4 separate regions of the Homo sapiens genome follow, and all the other regions are linked to region 4. Evidence: promoter capture Hi-C in human tissues and cell types (Jung and others, 2019). All regions are on one chromosome and are shown on one strand. The core of a region is centred on a gene start or on the middle of the fragment in contact, and the rest is flanking DNA. Distances in the headings are between cores, read along the strand shown. Region 1 has its middle 130 kb from the start of LMO3. Region 2 overlaps MGST1 (microsomal glutathione S-transferase 1). Region 3 has its middle 150 kb from the start of LMO3. Region 4 holds the start of LMO3 (LIM domain only 3).

What was found. The method cuts DNA at HindIII sites, captures the fragments that hold promoters and counts their contacts. A contact is called where the count stands out against the background at its distance.
Region 1: a fragment that was not itself captured here is called in contact with the fragment with the promoter of LMO3 in region 4 in 1 of the 25 tissues and cell types used here (heart right ventricle).
Region 2: a fragment that was not itself captured here is called in contact with the fragment with the promoter of LMO3 in region 4 in 1 of the 25 tissues and cell types used here (mesendoderm cells).
Region 3: a fragment that was not itself captured here is called in contact with the fragment with the promoter of LMO3 in region 4 in 2 of the 25 tissues and cell types used here (H1 embryonic stem cells and aorta).

Annotation. Positions count from the first base shown.
Region 1 is chr12:16,737,325-16,740,024 of GRCh38, reverse strand. No RefSeq gene overlaps it. Among named protein-coding and RNA genes, the nearest start is that of LMO3, 130 kb to the right of the region's middle. The HindIII fragment of the contact is 6,874 bases long and covers 1-2,700 here.
Region 2 is chr12:16,362,036-16,364,984 of GRCh38, reverse strand. MGST1 (microsomal glutathione S-transferase 1) reads right to left here. Exons shown (of 4, transcript NM_020300.5): 4 at 575-1,190. The coding sequence ends at 944. Among named protein-coding and RNA genes, the nearest start is that of MGST1, 16 kb to the right of the region's middle. The HindIII fragment of the contact is 4,798 bases long and covers 1-2,949 here.
Region 3 is chr12:16,754,827-16,757,743 of GRCh38, reverse strand. No RefSeq gene overlaps it. Among named protein-coding and RNA genes, the nearest start is that of LMO3, 150 kb to the right of the region's middle. The HindIII fragment of the contact is 4,937 bases long and covers 1-2,917 here.
Region 4 is chr12:16,604,804-16,607,887 of GRCh38, reverse strand. It overlaps LMO3 (LIM domain only 3), which reads left to right and starts at 1,726. Exons shown (of 4, transcript NM_018640.5): 1 at 1,726-1,822. RefSeq lists an enhancer at 2,792-3,084. The HindIII fragment of the contact is 10,363 bases long and covers 1-1,981 here.

The DNA.
Region 1 (2,700 bases), core at 38-2,537, 130 kb before region 4:
AACAACTGGGACTCAATTTAGAATTTCCTGGCAGCGAGCAAGAAAAATGTCAAAATCACAGTTTTACTTTATTGAAAGCCCTCTTAGGAGTCCCGTGGAAAGAACTGTGTGTGCCTGGTAGCCAGAGAGCGGTGGGAGGTAATATTTAGTTTATTAATGTGTCTTTGATTTTTTTTCATAGTGTTGATGCCTAGTATTAAAAAGCAAGACCTTGATCCAATTTTCCCCTTGCCCTCCCTCTAATGGAAAAGAGCTATGAAAAACAGATAAAGTTAACAAGATGTTGCATAAAATCAAAGTGCATTTCAGCAATCCCAAGATATTCAATACATCCCATTTGCTTGTGCATTGGAATGGCTCAGTAAATTATGTTTCACTTGTAAATATTGAATTTTAATATCCAAGTGCCAACAGTACACAACCTTGGACATACGTTAGACAACATTCTTGTCCTCTGGAAGCTTAAGTTTTATAAAAACAAAACTAGTAATTCATTTTCTTGATGTTTTTCTTATTTTGCATTTTATTAACATGGCAAGAGCCACATATTTATTACTTGTGCATTGGATCTGATTTTCTTTATCCTTCATATTGAATTAAACTAGATTTTTGAGAGATCTGCATTAGGGTGAAGTGTGACTAAGAATTAAGAAAATTATATTGCTAAGTAATAGGTTAATTCTGATATTTTAGTGGCTAATAAACCATTGGTAATATTTTAGAAAATTGATGCAAAATAAAATTATAGTAAATTTCTTGATGTGTTTGATCCTTCATAAACTCAAGAAGCAGCTACCAAAATATCAGTGAAACATGCAAATCTTTTGTGGAAATACTAAGTGGATTATTAAAGATTAGTTGTGTTATTTGGGTGCTTTAGCAGAAATATTTTAGAGGGATAAAATGAAAGAGATTAAATGACCTGGAGATGTGTCTGACAACTAATTTTTATCTATTAAGACACTAACTACAGAGTCTTCAAAGTGCTATTACCCAAGTATGACACTAGTTCTAGAGAGTAGTCTTTGGGAAAACCACAGCCTAAATGATCTGACAACAAAATGCTCTTGATCTTCAGGTCATTGGCAATCATGGTGTTGAGATTTGTTGTGTTTTCATTACGTTTCATAAACTCGTATTTTAATTTTTTTGCTCCCTCAGTGATTAGAAAAACCACATTATATGAAGAAATACCATTTTTGTAATATTACTTTTAGGACCATTTTCTTCCCGGTCTGTCTCTTATGCTTAAATTCCAACCTTCATTCAACTCTATTTCCCACCTATATTTCCCCCGCATTTTAGAGAGGTTTTGTTCCCTGGCTTACATAATTTCAGGCTGTCATAATAAAAGTATGGATCTGTACTCAATGCACAAAATAGATGAGGGGATAGTCATACCCATCTTGCTAAATTCCCCATGCTTGTGTTTTTTACCTGAAATAATTTTGACGATGCCAACCATACTTAATAGAGACGATCATTGCTCACCATCCCACATCACTGCGGAAGAAGGACCTAGGGTCAAGGCTCTGCTGAAGGCAGGTGCCATATTTTGTATTATACTTGGTCAAAGTAATATAATAAGAATGGTAAGAGTAATAAGAATGGTAAGAGGTGGGGTAAGGTCATGGGAAGTTAAAATCTGTTTGCAAGTCTAAATTATAAGGAAATATTAACAATGACTAAATAGAGAAGCTGGCCTTCAGATAAAGTTTAAATTGAAATGAGAATCACTGAAAAAGAGAGAAAGACAGAGGGAGACCAAGGGACAGAGAGTGAATATGACATTGCAGACCCTACAAGAAGGATAGTTGTGTTCTTTCCTGTTGACTTTTGTCTTCCCATTCCAATATGTACGTTCTCTTATCAAATTGCTTTTTGCTTAAGGTTATTTGAGTTATTATTCTCTGCAATTAAGAAAAACTTAATAAAAACAACTGTGGACAATCAAAAAATGAATATTCAAATGTCAAGTTACAATGGAAGATCTTAGAGCCATAGAACCATGCATATCATCTTGTGCAACCTTAAATATAAAAATAGAGGTTTTAAAACCTTATAAATGTGCTTCAAATGACACGGTAAAGATTATATCACAAATGTATATAAGTGGTCTATACTTTATGAAACAGTTTAATGAATTTTACTGATATCTTTTAGGGTAGACACCAGTAGCTGCCCTTTTTACAGATGAGGAAATAGAGTTATTTGCCCAAAATTCCATGGATAATAAGTAGAAAAGGCAGAAATTTTTTTCCAACAAACTAAAACTCTATGTAAATAAATTAATGAGAGGCATGTTGACACTCATGAAAGAGAGTTGAAAGAGTCTGTTCTCGGTTGCTGTAGCATGTCATCCCTCCAAACCTAACCAAGTATATTATAAGTAGTTTCAGAAAAATAATGACACCACACATTTCTAGAAAATATCTCAATTTTTTACATCTATGCAAGTGATTTGTTCAAAATTCCTATAATAATTTGATTTGATGATAATGAAGAGAATGATGATGTTGATAATAATGGTGATGGTGGTGATGATAGTGATGCTGAATGCATAAATGCCTACAAGATATCTCAAAATGAGTGTTCCTTGGGCACCTCACTTGGCATTTCCAAAATAGAAATCATCTCGCAACCCAAATATTCACTCAGCCTATTACTCCAAGCTCACAATCTGAGTTATTCTTTCCTCTT
Region 2 (2,949 bases), core at 319-2,818, 240 kb after region 4:
TCTGAATCTAAGAATGAGAAAATCATAGATAAAACAAATCCAGATTAAGGGTCATTCTGTAAAACAACTTGTCTATACTCTTCAAAAAATGTCAAGGTTATACAAAAGAGAAAGAAAGCAAAAGAACTCTCTCATTTAAGTGAAACCTAAATAGAAATGATAACAGAAGGCAATGTTTGATCTTTGAATCCTGGATCAAAAATAAAGTAGTTATGAAGACTATTACTGGGGAAACATGAAAAAATTGGAATAAGGACTCTATATATGAAATATTAGTATATTAATACTAAGTGTCTTGGGTGTAATAATGGTATTGTAGTTATTTGGAGAATGTCTTGTTCATAGGAAAAACGTGCTGAAGTTTTAAAGAGTGACATGTCATGATATCTGCCACTTACTCTCAGATGTTTCAGAGAAAAAGAAAACAGAGAGAGAAGGAAAGCAAATATGCAAAATGTTAACAACTGGCGATTCTAAGCAGGGTACAGAGTGGTTCTTTGTACTATTTTTCAACTTTACCCTAGGTTTGAAACTTTTGAAAATAAAATGTTGGGAAAAATAAAACCAAACAAAATCATTCTTTAAATTCTTTATTTCATGTCTGTTTCAGCAGTATTGAAATATAGGTTTCTCATACGTGCAATTCTTTTATAGATTCAAAAGTGAGGTGTTGTGTGAATGTTACAAATCATAACATGATCCAAATTTATAAGAAAGTACTTTAAAAATCAGACAAAAGACTTAAGAATTACTATGTTAAATTTCTAATCCAAATGTAAAACAAGAATACAGGATATTGGCAATGCTAATATTCAAAATGGGTTTACCCCAGTTCATAATTCCTCTGCTCCCCTCCTACCTAAAATCTAAGAAAGTATTCATTATAAATTGGAAGTACAGAATTCTTAAAAAGCCAACTGGATGCTGAGTTGTATGATTTTCTTTACAGGTACAATTTACTTTTCAGCAACCTGTAAGCCATGGAAAGAGTAACTCCATATCCAACAAAAAAACTCAAAGCTCTATTTGGCTGGGGAAGGGGTGTCAAATATGCAATGGTGTGGTAGATCCGTGCTCCGACAAATAGTCTGAAGTGCAGGATGGCTGTAGAGGGGTCGGGACCACTCAAGGAATACAGGAGGCCAATTCCAAGAAATGGAATAATATTTTCAAGGTCATTCAGGTGGGCTCTGTGGAAAAAGATAACTATTAAAGACACTAATTTCAAAATACTAGATATGTATCCTTTTTTCTCTCTCTTCTAAAAACTAAATCTGAGCACTAATGGATCCTTAAATTTCAAAGTAAGATTTATTTTTTTTCTCTCAAATTGTCTTGCTTCCTTGCCCACTTGACTTTTATTTAGAATCTCTCATTATTTCTGTTTCTTTTTATTTTTAGTGTATCTTTAAATATCACAGAAGGCATTTTGTAGTTCCTAGAATATCAAAACGACATCTATCTAATAGAACTCATTTCATTTTTGTAAATAAAAATACTTTTTTCTTATGAGGTTCATAACAATTAGCAATTCAAGATTCTTTTTATAAAAATTCTTTCTCCCGAAGGAAGAAAACCCTTTTGGTGTTGATTTTTCTTAAGACACCTCCTTTGCTTCTGCTACTCTACCAAATGATTATTGACAGAATCCTTGCCAACCCAAACCACTAGGTTGCCAATAATTAATTTACCAATTTAATATCAAGACTCTCATGCTCTTATATCTAAATAACAGAATACATAACTAGCCTTTCAAATATAGTAAAATTTTTGCTAACCTATCTTCCAAATGCCAAATAAATTCGTTAGGAATGATGGTGCAAAACTACAAAGGACACACAAAAAGTAGGATAGGTGAAAGAGAGAAAGAGAGAATTTCCTAAATGTTTTCTTTATAACAGAGCTAGAAGAAAACAAAAAGCATGTTTTAGCCACAGTTTTGCTCCAAACCGTGGCATCTTGGGTTTCTCTGGCTAAGACCGAATACAAAACACATCTACTATGGACTTGACATTTTTATTATTATTGTTGTCATTGCTATTGTTGTTTTTAGAGAGGGGGTCTTGCTCTGTTGCTCAGGCTGAAGTGCAGTGGTACAATCATAGCTCACTGCAGCCTCAAACTCCTGAGTCTCAGCATCATGAGTAGCTGGGACTACAGGCCTCACCACCATGCCTGGCTAATTTTTTAAATTTTCTTTTTAGAGATGGGGTCTTGCTATGTTGCCCAGGCTGGTCTTGAACACCTGGTCTCAAGCAGTCCTCCAGCCTCAGCCTCCCAAAACACTGGGTTTATAGGTGCAAGCCATCATGCCCAGCAACATTTTTAAAAATACTTAATTTTAAAATGTCACCTCCCTTAAGTCTACAGAATTAGAAATTGCTTTAGAATCTAGGCTAGAAATGGAGAATTTGATAGTTTGTCAGCTATTGATATGTATTTCAAAATGAAAACTATTTCTGCTTTACGTTACTCTCTTCTATAGCAATAAGCATATAATTATTACATATTGCCTGCTCAACGATCGTCACTCTCCTCCTCTCCTTTCCTTTGTCTTGTCTTCCCTAGATTATCTCTAAGCTTGTCTCACAAAGAGGATGACTACATAGAGACATGAAGAGGACAGCAGCAGCCCAGCTAAGTAATGATTTGAAAAGGCTTCAATACAGAATAAAAGCAAAGAGAGGATGGTGTGAGTGTTCCTGTGCCCTCTCTTTCATGGAGCAATACAAGTACTACTGAGAATGAGATGGGAAAGAAAAGACAGGAATACCATTTTCTATTAAAGAAGGGCCCACTTTGTCAATGACACCTAGAGTATTTGTTTTGCCCCTGTGATTTCTCCCCCAGCATCACAGAGATATCGTCACCTCCAATCTTAGGCACGTTAGTGTTCTCCTTCACAACATGCCAAAAGGACAGACATTTTAAGGTTGAGGAAGAAACTAT
Region 3 (2,917 bases), core at 213-2,712, 150 kb before region 4:
TTTGCTGTATATCACTGTAAATCATGGGTATAAAAAATAGTTTGGAGGGAAAAAAATTTAAACGGTAGCAAAATGTCAGTTTCAAGGGGTGTTAAAAGGAAATTTAATCAACTTTCAACACATTGAACACCACCTTGGCATTAGACATCATAGGTTTCCTTCTTACCTCCCAACTTCTGAGGCTTATTATTAAATACTTTCGCAGCAGCAAGATCACAAAAACATTAGACTGCTTGCTTACAGGTATATCCGACTTAGTAAACTTAAAGGGATGCTACCAGGGCTGGAAAAGCTGAAATTAGACCGATGGGCTTTACTGTATTCTGAAGCTGGGGCGTGCACAGTGCGCTATCTGATTCACTTTGCCTGCCAGCTTTGTTCTCTTGAGCCAGCAGGAGGGATTGACACTTAGGAGAATCTTTCTCTTTTAACCCGTGTGCTACTCCTGACAGCTAAGCTGGGTGAACAGAGCCTGGCAGACAGCTAGAACTCTGGGTTTGTGGTTTATGGGTAGCTGTTTAGAAATTGGCATTTTAACAATGCACTCCCTGACAATGTAATTAGGATAATTTTTTAAATTATACATAGGGCTGGCTACAGAATTTGTGGAAGCCAGTACAAAATGAAAATCCAGAGCCCCTACTAATAGCAAAGCATAAGCAAGTGAAAGACTTTCTAAACACCCAATCGTTTGTGCAGACTGTACACCCATGAAACTGGCTCTGGTTATACAATTGCTCTTTGATCAGTAAACACTTAATATATTTGCAGCAGAAAACGTATCAGTGTGGTTGTATTAATAGCTTAACAAATGAATATATGTAAAACATACAAAAATAACTTACTTTTAATGAACTCTTCCTTATGTGCAAACCTGGCCTAGGGCAAGAAATAAAGGGTCTAGGAAAATATAAACTTTTAAAAATAAATGTAAAATACCAGCTCATAAATGGGACAGTTTCAGTTTTACTAACAAATTTACATGTAAGTCTACCAACACGCTATTTCTGAATGGAAGGTTAATTCCTTTAGAATTAATGTTCTAAAATTTTAGAATGAATAATTTGTAAAAACCTTATAAAATTTTGATCTGAAAGTTTAAAAAAGAAAGTCAATCTTTTTCCAATTTGTAGGAGTTTTTAATGCTTTCCTAACCAAAGAAATCTAAGAACTAACAGATTTTTTAACAATATGGCAAATGGCAAATTTTATTTGTGTTCAAGGACCAAAACACTGGCTTTTGAGCATATTTGTAAATGATATTTAGTCTTTTAATGTTTGATAAGCTACACTTACCAAAAACAAACCACTCATTTATTTATTAATTCAGCATTCACTGATTATTTGTTATATGAAACACTGTGAACTTTTCTATAATCTTCATTTTTTGTAAAAGTATTATCTCTTCAATAATCAAAAATAATATTCCTCAGAAACTTCTTAAAGTCTCACGATGTGCAAGTTTTAAGGTCTCTGGGGAAAGCTGACATCAATAGAAAATATACATTTCTAATCAGCTTCTAATTATGATAATCATATATCCCATTTCAATTTAAATATACTTACTATTTTATGACTTTATAAGGAGTCGATATGGACTAAAATGTGGAAATTCTGATAGGAAGGAACTAAGCTCACTTTTAACATTATGGTAAAAAAATGTGTATTCTCTTCACTGAATTAAAGAAAACTTGACCACCAACTATTCATAGATATGAGGATAAAAAGCACAGAACCTGGTTAAATAAGAGCACTTTTTTTTTTTTTTTTTTTTTTCGAGACAGAGTCTTGCTCTATTGCCAGGCTGGAGTGCAGTGCCATGATCTCGGCTCACTGCAACCTCTGCCTCCCAGGTTGAAATGATTCTCCTGCCTTAGCCTCCCAAGTAGCTGGGATTACAGGTGTGCGACACCACGCCCAGCTAATTTTTGTAATTTAGTAGAGATGAGGTTTCACCATGTAGGCCAGGATGATCTCGATCTCTTGACCTTGTGATTTTCCCACCTTGGCCTCCCAAAGTGCAGGGATTACAGGCGTGAGCCACTGCACTGGGCTGAGAGCACATTTTTTATTGCAGAATAGACAAAGTCTGGTTGAGAAATTGATGGAGTTTAATGTGGGAAGTGCCCAGTAAAGATACTGATAGGATTCTGTCAAGACACAGATGAGGGACATTTAACTGATCCTTAGGCATTAGAAAAGAGATTACGGAGAATCCAATACTGACCTGAGTCTAGACCTAAGCTTTGAAGGATGAGTAGCCATTAGTCTAGCAGAAAACATGGAAAATGTATCCAGAGAGAGAGCAGAAGTTGTAAAGATGCAGATGTATACAAGGGCCTGCCACCAACCAGGGACTCCAGTGACAGGAGGCCTGTGAGGGTGTGGCAAAAGTTAAGACTCCAGAAATGGACAGAATGCAAAACATGAAGGGATTTTAGTCCCACTAAGCAGCTTGAACTTTATTTTAAAGTCTTGAGGGAGTCACTAATGGATTTATTTATTTCCTCATCATTATAAAACCAATATATGTTTATTTTTGAAAATTTGGAAATACAGCAAAGCAAATGCCAGTTCTAAATTTTAAATAAGGAATTGACCTATCAATATTTGCATTTTAGAATGAGTATACTCATTTAAAATTATGGGCATAGAGTGGAGTAAAACTGGAGTTAGAGAAACTAATTTTATGAAGTTTTTAGGATACACTCTAAGCTTCTATAAAAAGACCCTAAAATATAATGTTTTACAGGAAATTAGAAGAGTATTTCCCTTTTACCTAACAATTTATGAGCAAAGTAGTTGTGTAGGGCAGGAGACAACCATACTCCACAAGACTTCCAAAGTCTTCCAGGATCTAAGTGGCTGTTGATGCATTTTTTACTATTTCTGAGCAATAGGGGGAAACAGAGGGCCT
Region 4 (3,084 bases), core at 477-2,976:
CAGGCTATTTTATTATGAGCCTTCAAAAGGGAGGGGGTAAAAACTAGTTATCAATGTTGTGCCTTTATTCTTTATGAAGAAAAACAAAATTTAGCTTAAATACTCATGGGGGGGGTGCTTTGATTTTTTTTTTAAAACTAGAGCTAGATTAAAACTGATGGTGAAGAGAAGAAAAAAAGTTTTTTGTAGTTCAACAATTGAATATTTCTTGGCTCTTAAACATTTCAGTGAGTGTCTTTCAAATGTGGACCATTTTTAAGCTTGACCTCTGACAAAGCTTTGTAAAATCTGGTGAGGGTACTTTAAGAGCAGCCCAAACAGAGGGTGACTTTGAAGTTTGAAAACTTAGAAAAATAATAAGGTATTTTAAAGCTACCAGTGGCCTTTATAGATGCCAAGGAAAGTTAAGAGGAGAGGAGGTTAGAGAGAATGGGACCTATTAGAAAAAAAAAAAAAATCTGTCAAGGCCTTAAAACAAGCCTGTGAAGACAAAGCAGTAATGGTGCAGAAACTATGGTTCTTTGACCAAGTTAGTCCTGAAAACATGTTTCTCAGTGCTGTTGGCTGTTTTTCATTGGAGCGTGTGAGTTTTAAATAGTAAGGAATTCAAGTAATTGCAGGAAGTGTGTTTCGGGGTGGTGGTGGTGGGGGTCAGCATTAGTGAATGGAGAACAAGTTCACAGTTTGGGTCTTGGGCCATTAGAGGAAGGGAGGAAGGGAGGAAGGAGAGTGTGTGTGTGATCCCCTGAACCAGGCTTGTGTGGCGGACTTGCGGAGCAGCGACTTCAGAGAGTTCATGAATGGAAGTCACAGACAGACCAGCGACTGCAGCCACCTCCAGGCATTTCTTAAAGGGGAGGGTTGTGTGCTTTTTCCAGGGTATTCTGGTAGCAGTTTGATTCTCTTGCTTTTATTTTAATTTCCATAATTGGTAGCTTCAGAAATGGCTTTGGAAGGCAATTTGCTTTAAATGTAGCCACCTATTCCAAAATGCCCTGGTTATTTTAGGAACCCTACCCTTTTCCTCCGGAGCTCTCTCGCAGGAGTTCTTCTTTTGGACTGGTCCAGGAGGTAGGGTCCTTCCTCAGTCGACTCCTGCAGAGGTCACATTTTGTGTGCGGGTTTGTCCCCAGCGTTTGTGAGTAGCATATGCATGTGGTTGTGCTGACTGCACTCGCAGGCTTGTAAATTTTCACCCTGGGAAATTAGCAACAAAGCCCGATCTGTCTCGTGGCTGCTTTGCACTTTCCGAGGGCGGCTGTACTTGACTGAGCTGCAGAACAGGCACACGAGAGCGAGCGAGGGAGCCAGCGAGAGAGGGAGGGAGAGAAGGAAAGAAGAGGGGAGGGGTGGGGGCGAGAGGTAAATAGTCTTAAATCGGAAGGGAGCTGCTTCTCTGTGGTCTTGACAAGCGCTGCCTGGGCTCCGCCGGCTCACTAATAACTGAGTGACCTTTTCTTTGGCTGTATTATGTCTGGCTGGGAAGGGATTGCATTTTGCAGCTGAGAGCCGGAGCTTCCTTCAGCTCGGCTCCTCGCACGCTGCTGGGGTAAGTTGTCTTGAACCAGGACGGAGAGAGACAGCCTCGGACTGCAGTTGCCTAAAAGGAGGACACCTGTGGCTCAGATGCGGTCAACACCATTGCTTGGCGTATCCTTGAGGACCTCATTATTTTAAACTTAAAAAAAAATAGACATTCCCTCCCCCGTCTTTTTTTTTTTTTTCAAACAATGCTTCTTTTTGACCTTTCCCAAGGAGAAGCGCTACAAAGCAGCCACTGTGCTTACTGAACGGCCTCCCCCTGTATCGCTTAATTGAGAAGGTAAGTGCAGCAACTGTGTACACACGCGTCGGCTTATTTGTGGTGTGTGTGTCTGCGGGTGCGCGCGTGCGTGTGCGGATGTGGGTATTTTTTTCTTCCCCAACCTCTGCTAATGAGGCATAAACTGGAGCTGCAACCCAGCTCCGCACTGCAACTTTCACTCGGGCTGCAGCTCTACTGAGACGGTTTTGTTTAAATCATGTGAGGCTTCATTATTTTTATGATGAGACATGAAATAGATGCAGGCGGAAGATGTTGATGGAAGGAGGGAGAGCGGCTGCGGCGCGGAACGTCTCAAGTACGACTCGAGTGGATAATAGTCAAAGTTCACCATGAACTGCAGTATTTCCACACCCCTGACTCCCGGGGAGAGAGGGGCAGGGAGAGTTTGGAATTAGGAAGTGTTTGCTCCCAGCCCATAGGAAAAGAATTCAGTCCTGGGTGGGTTTCCGGACCCCTCCCCCTTACTTGCTGGAATTCATGAACCCCCACTTCTTAAAGAGTTGATATTACAATCTTTTGGTCCTTGTTGACGCTTCTGCCTCTCTCCACGCAGCCATAATAACAAAATGTTGTTCCTTTGCCGTGGAAAAGTGGCTGTGTTTGGGCATGGGGGCGGGGGGGGGGGGCAGGCGGGTAGGGGCAGAAGTGGCTAGAAGAGGGAAGGTCCCTGGACCAAGGTGCCTATATCCTAATAGATTGAGATTCAAACTGATGCAGCACATTTTTTACGGGGACTACTCAGATTGCTGTTATGAAATACAAGTCAGATTTATGATCTTTTTCATATTGAACATGATATGCTATGCTAACGCTGCATGTGACAGTTTAATCAAATCCATTTGTTACCAGGAAGCTAAAAGGGGCCGCTGGGATTTTAGGATTACGGGCAGAGTTAGGGAAGCATGTGGCTTTGTCATTCGCCATCATTTTGCACACTGCGAGGGGCTCCGTGTGTGCGCCCTGTCTTGTCTGGCCGTCCTCATCCCTTCCCCCACCCCCTGCCGCCACTCCGACCCGCTCCCAAAGTGGCTTCACAATAGTCGGTCCTCGGCGGTGTAGGCTGCGCACCAGGTCCACACTTAAGCGAAATCAAGGAGACCCCCTTCTACTTCTACCTTTGGGTTTGGTGCTCAATGCGAAGCTGCTGCAACTCAGACACGCCTAAGTCAACTCATGCAGAAAAAGGAGAAAAGTTTTGGTAAGGTTACAGTCTATCATAGATGCACTTTGCTGGCGCTCTGCACTCCTGGCCGCTCAAA